5 separate regions of the Homo sapiens genome follow, and all the other regions are linked to region 3. The links are contacts of gene promoters, found by promoter capture Hi-C in blood cells and fetal thymus (Javierre and others, 2016). All regions are on one chromosome and are shown on one strand. The core of a region is centred on a gene start or on the middle of the fragment in contact, and the rest is flanking DNA. Distances in the headings are between cores, read along the strand shown.

The links. The method cuts DNA at HindIII sites, captures the fragments that hold promoters and counts their contacts. A CHiCAGO score of 5 or more calls a contact.
Region 1: the fragment with the promoter of TARDBP here is called in contact with the fragment with the promoter of AGTRAP in region 3 in 2 of 17 cell types (naive CD4 T cells and total B cells); the score reaches 7.2 in naive CD4 T cells.
Region 2: a fragment that was not itself captured here is called in contact with the fragment with the promoter of AGTRAP in region 3 in 1 of 17 cell types (endothelial precursors); the score reaches 5.1 in endothelial precursors.
Region 4: a contact is called between a fragment that was not itself captured here and the fragment with the promoter of AGTRAP in region 3, in 1 of 17 cell types (total CD4 T cells). The highest score is 5.4, in total CD4 T cells.
Region 5: a fragment that was not itself captured here is called in contact with the fragment with the promoter of AGTRAP in region 3 in 6 of 17 cell types (fetal thymus, erythroblasts, total CD8 T cells and 3 more); the score reaches 8.2 in fetal thymus.

Annotation. Positions count from the first base shown.
Region 1 is chr1:11,011,277-11,013,976 of GRCh38, reverse strand. TARDBP (TAR DNA binding protein) reads right to left here and starts at 1,323. Exons shown (of 6, transcript NM_007375.4): 1 at 1,234-1,323; 2 at 12-261. The coding sequence starts at 249. RefSeq lists silencers at 5-251, 1,661-1,890 and enhancers at 613-1,580, 1,291-1,620. The HindIII fragment of the contact is 20,579 bases long and covers 1-2,700 here.
Region 2 is chr1:11,188,824-11,191,523 of GRCh38, reverse strand. The region is part of intron 28 of MTOR (mechanistic target of rapamycin kinase); the gene reads left to right. ANGPTL7 (angiopoietin like 7) reads right to left here and starts at 2,169. Exons shown (of 5, transcript NM_021146.4): 1 at 1,569-2,169. The coding sequence starts at 1,944. RefSeq lists an enhancer at 1,316-1,816. The HindIII fragment of the contact is 1,518 bases long and covers 598-2,115 here.
Region 3 is chr1:11,734,863-11,737,562 of GRCh38, reverse strand. It overlaps AGTRAP (angiotensin II receptor associated protein), which reads right to left and starts at 1,427. Exons shown (of 5, transcript NM_020350.5): 1 at 1,328-1,427. The coding sequence starts at 1,354. The HindIII fragment of the contact is 3,809 bases long and covers 323-2,700 here.
Region 4 is chr1:11,213,305-11,216,004 of GRCh38, reverse strand. It overlaps MTOR (mechanistic target of rapamycin kinase), which reads left to right. Exons shown (of 58, transcript NM_004958.4): 21 at 2,439-2,606. Among named protein-coding and RNA genes, the nearest start is that of ANGPTL7, 25 kb to the right of the region's middle. The HindIII fragment of the contact is 3,623 bases long and covers 1-2,700 here.
Region 5 is chr1:11,095,663-11,098,362 of GRCh38, reverse strand. It overlaps EXOSC10 (exosome component 10), which reads left to right. Exons shown (of 25, transcript NM_001001998.3): 2 at 207-343; 3 at 2,482-2,605. Among named protein-coding and RNA genes, the nearest start is that of EXOSC10-AS1, 2.7 kb to the left of the region's middle. The HindIII fragment of the contact is 3,359 bases long and covers 1-2,700 here.

The DNA of each region.
Region 1 (2,700 bases), core at 74-2,573, 720 kb after region 3:
TGGTAACAAACCTTTTGGATAGTTGACAACATACACCAGATTTCCCCAGCCAGCATCTGGGGCATGCAGAATTCCTTCTACCAGCCGGACACCTCTCATACACTGAGACACTGGATTCCTGTAGCGAAGCCCACACGCCCCTGGAAACTGGGCTGTAACCGTGGAGAGCAGCACCGTCCCATCGTCTTCCGATGGTATTTCAATGGGCTCATCGTTCTCATCTTCGGTTACCCGAATATATTCAGACATCTTTTACTTTTCCTAAAGAGAAAAGAGATATGAATGAACAACATTCATGTCAGAATAACTGTTTCCTTATAATGATAATACCCAAACCATGTCAGAGTTCTGACTTCCAGAAAAATGCTTGTCTGGATTCGTATATGCATTGGTTATCCCTGAAAAATGACGAGGTGAAGGTAAGGGTAGTGATTTCCTATCAAAATGTGATGCCTCGCCAGTTCATTCATTCAAAAAACTTTCCCTGAAGGCTTATGATGCGTCAGGTACTGAAACTGTAACTGTGAGTCCAACGTGGCTTGCTGGTTACAAGCTAGGGTATGCAAGGGAACAATAAACAGTAGCTATTTTATGACAATCGGGTTAGTCGTTAAGTAATCCTGAAGGCAGAGGAGGAGCCTAACTGGCTGAGGCATGGGCGTGATAGGTCCCAGTCGATTTTCCTAAGCAAGCGATCCATCAGCTGAACCTGAAGACTGAATATGGGCAGTGAACCAGGTGTAAAGAACAGGAGAAAAGTTTCCCTCTGTTCCTCATTTTGGGGCTTCCGGGGGCTCTGCGAGCCCGAGCCCCAAGGCCCGCGGCGACAGGTCCTGGCGGTGCCGGCCGTCGCCTCCCAGAAGCCCGCGCGTGCCAGCCGAGGGAGGAGTTTCTCGGCGCGGCCCGGGGTGGGGCGCAGGAGCACCAGGCCCAAGCTGGCAGCGTCCCTCGAAGTACAAAGTACCGAAGGCTCCGGCACTGTCCGGGTCCGGGGCCAACCTCCGCCTCAGGCTACGCGGCACCGCGGGCCCGGCCCCCCGTTTCGGCGCCACCGGCCTCCCCGTGCCAGGACCTAACGACGCTCCCGCGCGAGCCCGCTCGGGCAGGACTAGGCCCGGTCTCACGGCTGACTTCCCGGGGCAGGGTCCGAAGCCGCTGCGTCTGCCTCGGGCCGCCCCAATGCAGAAGCCGAGGCACCTACGGCGTCCTCAGTGAGAAGGCTCCGCGACTCACCCGCTAGGCCGCTGCTGGGAAGCCCGACAGGGACACCGAAGCAGCGACGGACCCAAGCGCAGCCCAGCCACCGCTTCGCTCCCACAAAATGGCGCTAGGGCCGCCTCCTCCCCCCGCCCACCGGCGTCCTCTCCCACCGGTTGCCTGTCCAGAGGTGGAAGGCACCGACGAGAGCCACGATGACCCTCTCCCCAGGGACTCGGGCTGCCTCCTGGAAATTCAAGCCTACAGAGAAGCTCTGAAAGCTAAAATAAAACCAGGACCTAGGCCTGAAAAGCTGAAGATTGAAAAAAGTGTGGCTGTATAGGAGCTGACCTCCCCCCACGTAACGTAGCAGATGGTTTCGGCCGACCAACCGCCGGCCCAGGTCTCGGTCGGAGCTCGCGCACTTTCAAAGCGCGCGAGAGTAGCACAGAGTCTCGGCCAGCGAGGGCGGGGCGGGGCGGGGCCTGGAGGGGGCGGGGCTCGGGATCCCGGGCCGAGTCCACCTGGGAGGCAGGATAAGGCCTGGACCCCTTTTCTGAAAGGCAACCTAGTGCGTCTTCTCCTCCCTCCGCCAGCCCACCTCCAAACCTGGAAACAATAACTTTGTTCTAAATAATAGCAATGATAAGGCTACTTTGTGCCAGGTACTTTCTGAGTATTCACATATTTAATAGCCCAAACAGTTTTGTGTAGCAGGAGCTATTGATATTCATTCTGCGGGTGAGGAAACTGAGGCACAGAGAGATCAAGTGTCTTGCTTAAAGTGACGCAAGGATTAGCCGGGCGGTAGTGGCGCGCGCCTGTAGTCCCATCTACTCGGGAGCCTGAAGCAGGAGAATTGCTTGAACGCGGTAGGCGGAGGTTGCGGTGAGCCGAGATCGCGCCACTTCACTCCAGTCTAGGCGACAGAGTGAGACCCTGTCCTCCAGCCCCTCCCCCCAAAAAAATGTCACCCAAGGAATAAATGGTAGACCTGGGATTTGAATCTCGAGGCACAAAATGCTAACTTGTTCTGGCTCCAGCCCTTTAATAATAATAATAATACAGTACTTCATCTATTTTAAGGCACACTTTTTGTTTCACTTTTTTTTTTTTTTTTTTTGAGACGGAGTCTCGCTCTTGTCCCCCAGGCTGGAGTGCAGTGGCGCAATCTGCAGCTCACTGCCACTTCCAACTCCTAGGTTCAAGGGATAGCTGGGATTATAGGCGTGCAAAGACACCATGCCCGGCTAATTTTTGTATTTTTAGTAGAGACAGGGTTTGGCCATGTTGGCCAGGCTGATCTCGAACTCATGGCCTCAAGTGATCCGCCTGCCTCAGCTCCCCAAAGTGCTGGGATTACAGGCACGAGCCACCTTTCTTTTCTATCTTTTCTTTCCTTTCTTTCCTTTCCTTCCCTTCCTTTCCTCCCTTCCCTCCCTTTCCCCCCCTTCCCTCCCTTCCCACCTTCCTTCCTCCCTACCTCTCTCTCTTTCTCTCTCT
Region 2 (2,700 bases), core at 107-2,606, 550 kb after region 3:
CCCTTACTATCCAAGAGAAGCTTCCTGCCTGCTATGTCTCGGGGTGCTTTTCTTGGTGACCACTGCACTGGGACCTTAGAGAGGAGCACCAAGATGGCAGATGGGAGTTGTCTGAGGCACATAGGTTCTCTTGCAGAGCACCTTGGGAAAGGGAGGTAGAGTACGTGTGCCTTCGCCATCACTATTCTTCATTTCGTCTTAGTGGTGAAAGCACCAACTTACTGCTTCCTCTAAGGGACTACCTACTTATAGAATATAAGGGTAACTGAGCACTTGGTCATAGAGAAGAAAAATAAGGAATGATGTCCTGGGCAAGAAGAGCAAGAGACCTGGTGGGAGAGCTGCACTTGACCCCAAGAACCTCCTTGCAGGATGGTGAGAAAGCCTCCTGTTTGGATGAGCAGGAAGTGGCACGGTCAGATTCCTCTGTCTGGCCTGGTCTTCCGCATGTCTGGTTTCATCTCACAGACCAAATCAGGACTCACTTGTCTGGAAAATGGCCTGAGAATACCTTTCTAATCCCAAACTGAGGGCCCGGAAGTCCATGCTTAGAAAGTGATTGATACATGTTGGTTCAGGTAACAGAATTTTCAAGCTTGGTTTCATGTTAAAACTTTTTCTTAATTTGAGCTGAGGTTAACCATTGACTTAGTCAGTAGAAGCTGATCATGTCTTTGTTCTTCATGTAGTTTATAATGGGACCAATGGTTTTTATATCAGCAAGAAATGACATGTCTATAGGATATGCTCCTTACAACTAATATTTTCCTGATAATTTCAGAAAACCAAATTTTTATCTCTAAACCGTAAATTCATGTTGGCCCACCTGAGCTGAGCTAACCAGAAATAAAAGTTATTTTGCAAAAGAAAGATTAAATTTATCTTATTTTTGGCCTATTAAGTCTATATTTCAGCATTGCATTTAAAAAATCCTGTATTCGGAGAAATTCATTTAAGACCATGGAAAAAAATAGACGTATCACAATTGAGGAACCTTAAGGAGCCGCATCCTTCCTGAACACAAAGGGACTCTTCACATGGTTATGTGTCTCTACACTTAACTCTGAGCCAATGAGAAGAGTTACGTTTACAGAGAGAGGACACAAAATTCCATTAATGCTCATTCCTGGTAAATCTTAGGAACACCAGAGAACTGTTTCTGGCAAAACTTTGCTTCCAGAGGAACAGCTGTTACAGTTTGGTGCTTCCTTGGAATTTCTTGAGATATAGCCTGTCAGCTCTTGGTGAGGAAGTAGCAGAGCTACACCAATCAGGAAGACTTGAACCCTGCTTCTAAGACTTGCTGGGTGACTTTGGGCAAACCATGTAGTATCTCAGCACTCCAAGATGGTAGGCTGAAACACTGTGTGGATAAAAGAGACCCGTGAAGGTGTTAGGTAAACTTACATAGCATTAGAAGTCAAAGGAAATACTGCATAAGCCTTTACTAAAGGGAAAGTGTACCCACAAAAGAGGCCCCAGTAGTGGTTCTGATGACCAGGATATGTAGAAGCAGTGCTGTAGATGGGGAGGCACTCCACGCTCCCTCAGGGGACTGGTCTCCTTACCTGCGGAGGTCTGAGTGACCGTCTGTGCTGCCTGCAGCTGCATGATGTCAATTTGGTTGTTCATCTCGGAGTACTTGCTCTCAGCATCTGTGAGCCGCGACTCCATGCGCTTGCTGTTGCTCTCCAGCTCCATCACCTGCATGACCACGCTGACCCAGTCCCTCTCCTGCTTCTTGTTCAGTTCACTCAGCAGGCTGCTAAGGTTGGCAACTTGGGCCTTGAGCTCCTTCACCTCCTCACAGCAGTTGGCCGCTTTGAGCTGTGGCTGTGCTGGTGTCTTGTGCTTAGAGAGCTTCTGCAGCCACGCTGGGTGGCTGACAAAGGCCACGATGAAAATGCAGAGCCAGGTCACAGCTGAGAGAGGCTTTTTCAGCATCTTTTGTGGGTTTGGGTGAGGAAGGCTCTTCCTTCAGGGGAGTCTGGAGATGCCCAGCTGAGGTCTGCAAAGCTGCAGCAGGCTGACTGAACCTTACGCTTTCACTCTGAGGGCCTCGCCACTTTGTTGTTTTCTCTCTTTCCTTGCTCTTTGCTAGCCTTTCTCAAAGCTTGAGTCTCTGACAGGGGAGCTGAATGGGTAGCCTATAGCTTTCCTTCCAAGCCCGAATGCTCCACAAGTCAGCATCTTAAATATTGTTTGCTGCCTGTACCTCCACCCCTACCATGGCTGCACCAGGCTTTAGCCCCTCCCAGCTCATCTGGGAGGGTCAGGTGCCTGTTGGGTGAAGTCAGCGGCAACTTAGGCCAGAGGAGGGGAGGAGGGAGATGGGGCGAGTCTTTCTTTCCTTGCCTGTACAGTCTCTGGGCTAAGACAAGAGGACTGTGAATTTGTGTGTTTCCAGTTTCGCCTATTAGATTATGCCCCTGCCAGCCACTGGCTCAACTCTATCAGCAAGCAGGACAGGGTCAGAAGAATTTCCAAATTCCGTTCAAAAGGTTATATAACCATGGGGTGAGCGTAAGGTAGGCGAAAGAGACGCTACTCACCCAGGGAGGCCTGTTAATGTAATCCATGCTGTTTATATGAGGATCTGGTATATTTTGACATCCTGCTGAATATGCTTTTATCTAGGCTGATTATTCCCATCTCTGATCATTATTTAGTATTTTATAAAATCCTTACTCAACCTGGATC
Region 3 (2,700 bases), core at 178-2,677:
TGCTCATCTGTAAAAAGATGACCATATCAGCTTTCTCATAAGGCTGCCTTGATTAAATAACCTGGCACACCACAGAAGCCCATAAATTAGAGCTCTGTCCCTCCCACTGCCCTCACCTGATCCTCTGTCAGCAATTATTTTAAGCAAATCCCTCATCAGAGAAAAGGCAGTTGGTGTTAACCCCACATTGCCTGGAATAGAGTGCATATTGATACCAACAAGCCTCGGCTGCTGTCACGTAAATTTCTTCCCAGCTGAACGTTCCATCCAAGCCCATTCCCTTGCTCCAGCCATGTCTCCCCACCACCTTTGACTGGAAGCTTCAGGAAGGTTTGCTGAAGCAAGTATGATTAAGAAGGGAAACATGCCTATAGCAAGTCATAGCACAGATGTTGTGTAATAATAAAGTGTATTAAGCCATTGTTTTGTAACCATCTATTTCTCAGGTTCCTTTAGTCCCAGACACCAACAGGGAGCTAAATGCTCTGTCATTCATGAGTAAGAGGACATTCCTGGATATTGCCTCAAAGGAGGCTGCACTAAGACCCAAAATGGCCGGTTTGGTCCAAGGTCCACACCTTCCTGACCAAAACTACAGCCCCTAGCCCCTCTAATGCAAATGGAGCCCAGACACGTGGGCGGCGGGGCTGGGCGGGGAGAAAAAGAACAGCCGCTGGCACCCAGACCCGGACTGAGCTCACGGCTCGGGAAATGAAGACACCACAGGAAGCCCTGCAGTGTTTTCCCCAGTGCACAAAGTTGGGGTTTTCTGCTTTTAAGTAATTTCTGTTGGAGTTCGCGCTTCTTGATTATGAAATAAGGGCGCTGGATGTGTAAACTTTATAAAACCAACTGCTTGGGAACATCTGATTTCCTTAACCCGACTTAGCAAACAAGGAGGCTCCTGAAACGGTGCTGGGACCCGGGGGGCAAGCCCAGTCCCTGACCCCGCGCGGGGGAGGTGAGCCGCCTACAAGCCCCTCCCGCGCACCTTCCTCCTCCTCCAGGGGAATTCTGGGCGTGCAGGCAACAGCAATGCTGGGACCGGCGCTGCCCGCTGGGAGGGTCTGAGTCCGGGAGGGGGCGGCCCTTGCCCTCCGCTGCCACCTCCCACGGCCCCTCAGTGTCGCCCTGCTGGCCTGTGCCTGGATCACTCTCCCTGCTGTGGCCTGCCTGCCCATCTCCTTCTTGCGTGGGGTCTGTACCTTCCCTTCCTCCCTACCATCCCTCTTTCCCCAAAACTCCGGTCCTTCCTCCCACCTTCCGGGAAAATGCAAATGTCCCACTTCCTCCCGCAAAGGGGACCCTCCCCCCAGCCCGTCGCCACCTTCAGGTTCACAGCAGGCAGCTCCATCCCGACTCAGGCCGAGGGCACCTGCGCCGCAGCCGCGGGGGGCTCCTAGGCTCCGAACTCGGGGAACAAACTTGCCCGGCCCCGCCCCGCCCCGCCCGTTGCGGCCACTCCAACCCCAGCGCAGCTCAAGACCACGTGAAACGGGCTGGAGCGGGTCACGTGACCGCCGCTTGGTTGCTAGGAGACGGCGTCGGCAGCTCGCGCCTTCAGCCAAGCTCCAGACTCCCGCCACCGCCCAGGCAGTACTTGGGGGCCGCTGGCGAAAGTTGGAGTTTCTGTCGCCCAGGGCGTATCCTGCCTGGCTAATATTCCAGGAAGCGGACTGTTCGGACTGCCTGCAGCCAGGACAACTGGGGGACCGTCCAGGCGCAAAGTGCTGATGTGGCAACAGCTTGTGTCTCATCCTTGGGGGCACCCTCTCTCCTTCCCACTTCCCTGTGTAAATGGGCTATTTAGGCTACCTACCTCATATGATCCTTATGAGGATTAAATGAGCTAACTGCTGTTGTTAAAGAAAACGTTATTGGGACTGTTGTTAAACCAGTACTGTTCAAGACTTGCTGTAGGGTTATTGCCATGGAGTGAGAGTTTGGGCTCAACACCGAATACAACAAGGACCAAGGAGGGATTTATAGCCAGAGCAGAATGAGGGAGCAGGAATGGAAGATTCCTAGGAGGAGACATCAAGGATGGGGGAGTTCTTGCTAACTTAGCAGGACTCTTGCTGAAACTGGTTTATTATGCAGGCTCAGGCCCAGCAAGGACAGGAAGACACAGAGGTCCAAGGCCGAGGCCTAGTCAAGATGAGGACTCAGAGGAGTCTAACTACGGTTTGTTCTAGGAGAGAACAGTGCCCGGCACTTAGTAAATGGGCAGGACACACAAGCTATTGTTATTACCAACACAAGATGAGGCTGGGCGCAGTGGCTCACCCCTGTTATCCCAGCACTTTGGGAGGCCAAGGAGGGTGGATCACCTGAACTCAGTAGTTCGAGACCAGCCTGGCCAACATGGTGAAACCCCGTCTCTACTAAAAATACCAAAATTAGCAGGGCATGGTGGTGTGCACCTGCAGTCCCAGCTACTCAGGAGGCTGAGGCACGAGAATTGCTTGAACCGGGGAGGCTGCAGTGAGCCGAGATCACGCCACTACACTCCAGCCTGGACGACAGGGTGAGACCTTGTCTGGGAAAAACAAACAAACAAAAAGCAACACCTGAGGAGCCAAATTGGTGGGAGCCCACTTTAATCAGCATACCAAAAGTTTTAGAAAACTCTAGCTGAAAAACCATAAGAAATTCCTCCCCCAATTGTACATGAGGAAAGAAAGGGCTGTCTCCTGCCTC
Region 4 (2,700 bases), core at 187-2,686, 520 kb after region 3:
GATTTTGAGGGGGAGGAAGGGCTGTTGCTCCAGGTTCCCAGGTACAAAACTACAAGGCATGAAGGCTGAAGAGAAATCCTGCAGTAATTGTTCTGCCAGAAATAGACAATTGGGTTATTTGCCTCACACACAACAAAGCAATTTTACTTTAATATCACAAGGGTGCTTTTCTATTTTCATGAAAGCCCTCTTTGTTACTGCTCATAAACCATGAAGGGATTGGGTTTTCTTAGGGCTGTTAAATATGATGGACACGTGTTGGGCACCAAGGAACAAGGTGATGCTTTACCCTGCTACCTCCAAAACCATACATATCACCTTTTGACTGCAGTGGCACATGAGAAAAGGCTCAGGTTCCAGGATTTTATAACATGCATTAAGTAGGTGCCAGAAGACACCCCATGGGCAATATCATTTTTCCTTGTGTTCTATATAATTTAAATGTCTCTACGGGGAAGATTGCTTCACAGGGATGGCATGTCCTCAAAGAGTTGGAAGATTTCTGTTCTTTCACACCAGACCTTTGTAGTTAGTTTGGACTAAAATCAAAATGGCTGGACTATTTGATTTTAGCAGGACTAAAATCAAAATGGCTGGTTTCAAATGGAACTTCCCAGCACCTGGATCTCAGAACTGAAAACCTCCCTACATGTATAAATAATTAAAAGCTGCTCTATTCCCTGACTCTTACCACAGAAGCCTCTGTACAAGGAGGATTTAGGCAGAATGCTAAAGAGGCCGATGGCTAGTCTTAGTGGGAGGAGGGGCAAGGGAAGAAGCAGTGTCCTCATGGGAGGAGGATGAAGTAATCTGTGACTTAATCCCCCCAAGAAGGCTAAACAAGGATACAATATGACCATATTATAGTCATAACAGGTTGATGACCAAAACACAGGGAATTGAGGCAGGGAGCCTCACACCTGCAAAATACAGCTTTCATTTCATCCCAGATAGAGAAGGTGCAACGGGGGCTCTTCCTTTGACTGTTGATTCTGGGCATTTTAATGAGCTCCCCCGAGCCTGGGAAGAAAATAGTCTTTGTGAACAGTGATCCAGCTGACATCCCTTGGCAGGCTGCCTGACATCTTTGAGGTAGAGAAGCCCCTGTGAGGAGCTGATGATAATGCAGCTGGGAGGTAGGTTGGCCTTCTCTAAAGAAGGCAGAGTAGGGTTCAAGTGGATGAACATCAGACAGACTCTGGAGGCTGTGAAATCTGTGGTGTTTCTTTGGCAACACTTTTAACCTAGAAAACACAGCTTTTTCAGAGAGAATACTTCTCTCCAAGTAGAGAGAAAGGAAGTTTTACCAGCATCTTCTAGTATAGTTTTTGCTTTCTAAACCATTATGCTTTTAAAGATACCTTTTTAAATAAAAATACTATATCTTTTTATAAAGCCTTTCATCTGAGGAGTTATCCTTGTTGTTATGGACTTCTACTTTGAACTATTTAGAGGCTCCAAGAATATTAACATTCATGTGTTGCCATCATTAGTAGGGTTTCTATTATCATTAAATTTCCTACTCCAGAACTTTTAAAGATGGTGGTAGGCAGCTGTCTTTTTGAGTTGATAGAAATGATATCTTTTCCTGGAGTTAGAGGCTTGGACTAATTTGCTTTGCAGCACTGAGGCAGGATCTGTGGCCAGTTGGCCAAGTTTTTATTTTAGTAACTTGTGTGGAAAATAACCATGTGGGTGTAGAAAGGGGCTCATTTTGTGGCACTGTTCAGGCCTGATGGATAGATTTTTGGGAAGGGACAGATATCAGATGCTATCTATTAATAGCAAAATCTAAATCCAGAAAAGCCAGGAAATATTTGTAATACTGGAGTCACCCTCTGGTAGAGATCAGGTGATACCAAAGTAAGGTCCAAGTCCACCCTGGACCACTTCAGAGTTTTTTGAGTGACTTAGTCATCTGTTCATTCTAGAATATTCCAGATGCTCTGATTGATAGATTCTGGGGATACAGAGATAGGATACTTGTCCCTAAGTAGCCTACAGTCTAGAGGGAGGACAGCAAAGCAAAGGAAGTCTTACAACTGCTATCGCTATCAAAGGGAGTGCAAAGGACCCAAGTGGATCATGGAAGGAGAAGAAGAAAGCCTGCATGGGAGAAGTGAGGCTAGAGCCAGGTCTAGAAAGACAGACAGGGCTTAGCTGAGCAAGAAGTGGGATTCTAGGCAGAGGAAGCAGCATGAGCAAAGCCCAGAGGACTGAGGTAGCCTGGTGCATCTGGGGAAATGCAATTGAGTTTGTCCAGTGTAGCTGCAACATAGGACACAAGAAGGGCCCAGTGGGAGGAGGGGAGTGAGGAGTTGATCTCGGCGCAGACCATGCTCACTACAGTTTTGCTTTTCTGGCCATCTTGATTCCTTTGTTCATATATCATCAGAAAGGGACCTGACTCAGCTCCTCTGACTTTTCTCTCTTTGTAGGAATTCTGGGTCATGAACACCTCAATTCAGAGCACGATCATTCTTCTCATTGAGCAAATTGTGGTAGCTCTTGGGGGTGAATTTAAGCTCTACCTGCCCCAGCTGATCCCACACATGCTGCGTGTCTTCATGCATGACAACAGCCCAGGCCGCATTGTCTCTATCAAGGTGAGTAGCCTACGTCATCCTCCAGAGAGATTTTCTGATTTCCTCTGAGTCCCTGGGTGATCAGCTAAAAGCTGAGACCTCATTCTGAGTGACA
Region 5 (2,700 bases), core at 105-2,604, 640 kb after region 3:
CTCTCCCAAGAATATAAGCTCCAAACTTGGTTTCCTGTTCAGTATTGTATTCTCAGGGCCTAGATTAGATTGGGGTTTGGCACTAAATGAGTGCTTTTTTTGATGGATGAAGAGTAGATACCTTGTATACGATAGATCAAAAAAATGACATACCAAATGAATGGGGATCCCTGTGTAAACATGCCATCTTTTCTTGTTTTTGACAGTTTGCTCTTGGGTCCGTGGTGGCAGTCACCAAGGCATCTGGGGGCCTACCACAGTTTGGCGATGAGTATGATTTTTACCGAAGTTTTCCTGGCTTCCAAGCATTTTGCGAAACACAGGGAGACAGGTTGCTTCAGTGGTAAGTACTGTACTTTGTTTTCTTGTGTTAGTGAAAAGAAATGAAAACAAAGAAGTAGATAAATTTTTCCTGAAATTTATTTTTCCTTAAACATTTTCTGTGGTATGAAGAGCTATAAAATGTGAAAATTGAAGCAATGGATTTTGATTAGGGAAATATTACTTGGTATATTTTTAGTTTAGCCTTTAAAAAATGTATTGACTTTTGTACTGAAAAAATATATTGACTTTTGTACAAATCTTTTTTAATTAAATGGGACGTGAACACTTAGAGCCAAGATTCTTTTTTTTTTTTGAGACGGAGTCTCGCTCTATTGCCCAGGCTGGAGTGCGGTGGCATGATCTCGGCTCACTGCAAGCTCCGCCTCCCAGGTTCACGCTATTCTCCTGCCTCAGCCTCCTGAGTAGCTGGGACTACAGGTGCCCGTCAACACGCCCAGCTAATTTTTTGTATTTTTAGTAGAGACAGGGTTTCAACATGTTAGCCAGGATGGTCTCGATCTCCTGACCTCGTGATCCACCTGCCTCGGCCTCCCAAAGTGCTGGGATTACAGGCGTGAGCCACCGCGCCTTGCCAGATCCAAGATTCTTTCCCACAACTTGTAGAGTAGCAGGTATTTTTATTTTTATTTTTATTTTTTTTGAGATGGAGTCTCGCTCCATCACCCAGGCTGGAGTGCATTGGCTCAATCTCGGCTCACTGCAACCTGCGCCTCCCAGGTTCAAGCGATTCTCCTGCCTCAGCCTCCCGAGTAGCTGGGATTATAGGTGTACACCACCACGACCAGCTTTTTTTTTTTTGTTGGGGGGGAGTACGGAGTCTTGCTCTGTCGCCCAGGCTGAAGTGCAGTGGCGTGATCTCGGCTCGCAGCAACCTCCACCTCCCAAGATCAAGCGATTCTTGTGCCTCAGCCTCCCCAGTAGCTGGGATAACAGGCATGTACGACCATTCCCGGCTAATTTTTGTATTTTTAGTAGAGGAGGTTTCACCATGTTGGCCAGGCTGGTCTCGAACTCCTGACCTTGTGATCCACCCACCTCAGCCTCCCATAGTGTTGGGATTACAGGTATAAGCCACTGCGCCTAGCCAGTTTTTTGTATTTTTAGTAGAGATGGGGTTTCACCATGTTGGCCAGGCTGGTCTCGAAGTCGTGACCACTCCTGAAGTGCTAGGATTACAGGTGTGAGCCACTGCGCCCAGCTAGGGTGCAAGTTTTATTGGTTTCATCAAAAAGTATCAGGGGCCAGACATGGCGGCTCATGCCTGTAATCCTAGTGCTTTGGGAGGCAAAGGCAGAAGGATCGCTTGAGCCCAGGAGTTCAAGACCAGCCTGGGCAACGTAGGGAGACTCCATCCCTACAAAAAATTTTTAAAGTAGCTGGGAGTGGTGGTGCACCACTCCCAAGTCACAGCTACTTGGGAGGCTGAGGTGGGAGTATCACTTGAGCCCAGGAGTTCAAGGCTACAGGGAGCTGTGATTGTACTGCTGCATTCCAGCCTGGGTAACAGAGCAAGACCCTGTCTCTTTAAAAAAAAAAAAAAAAAAAAGAAAGAAAGAAAGAAAGAAAAAGGCTGGGCTCATGGCTCACACCTGTAATCCCAGAACTTTGGGAGGCCGAGGCAGGTGGATCACTTCAGGTCAAGAGTTCGAGACCAGCCTGGCCAACGTGGTGAAACGTCATCTTTACTAAAAATACAAAAATTAGCCAGACCTGGTGGCGTGTGCCCATAATCCCAGCTACTCAGGAGGCTGAGGCATGAGAATCGCTTGAATCCGGGAGTCGGAGGCAGGCAGATCACTTCGGGTCAGGAGTTCGAGAGCAGCCTGGCCAACATGGCAAAACCTCATCTTTACTAAAAATACAAAAATTAACCAGACCTGTTGGCATGTGCCTATAATCCCAGCTACTCAGGAGGCTGAGACACGAGAATCGCTTGAACCCGGGAGGTTGAGGTTGCAGAGAGCCAAGATCATGCCACTGAACTCCAGCCTGGGCAACAGAGCAAGACTGTCTCAAAAAAAAAAAAAAAGATGTGTTGGGAACAGTCTGAGCCACATCATTTGAACATTCTCTCTCACAGAATGTAAACAAGTGAAATAAAAATCTACAAGCTAACCTTGGTTTTCCTTTCCTTAGCATGAGCAGAGTAATGCAGTACCATGGGTGTCGCAGCAACATTAAGGATCGAAGTAAAGTGACTGAGCTGGAAGACAAGTTTGATTTACTAGTTGATGCCAATGATGTAATTCTGGAGAGAGTGGTGAGTATTTTCCCTTACTCTTTTTTTTGTTTTGTTTTGTTTTTGAGACGGAGTCTCGCTCTGTCGCCCAGGCTGGAGTGCAGTGATGCGATCTC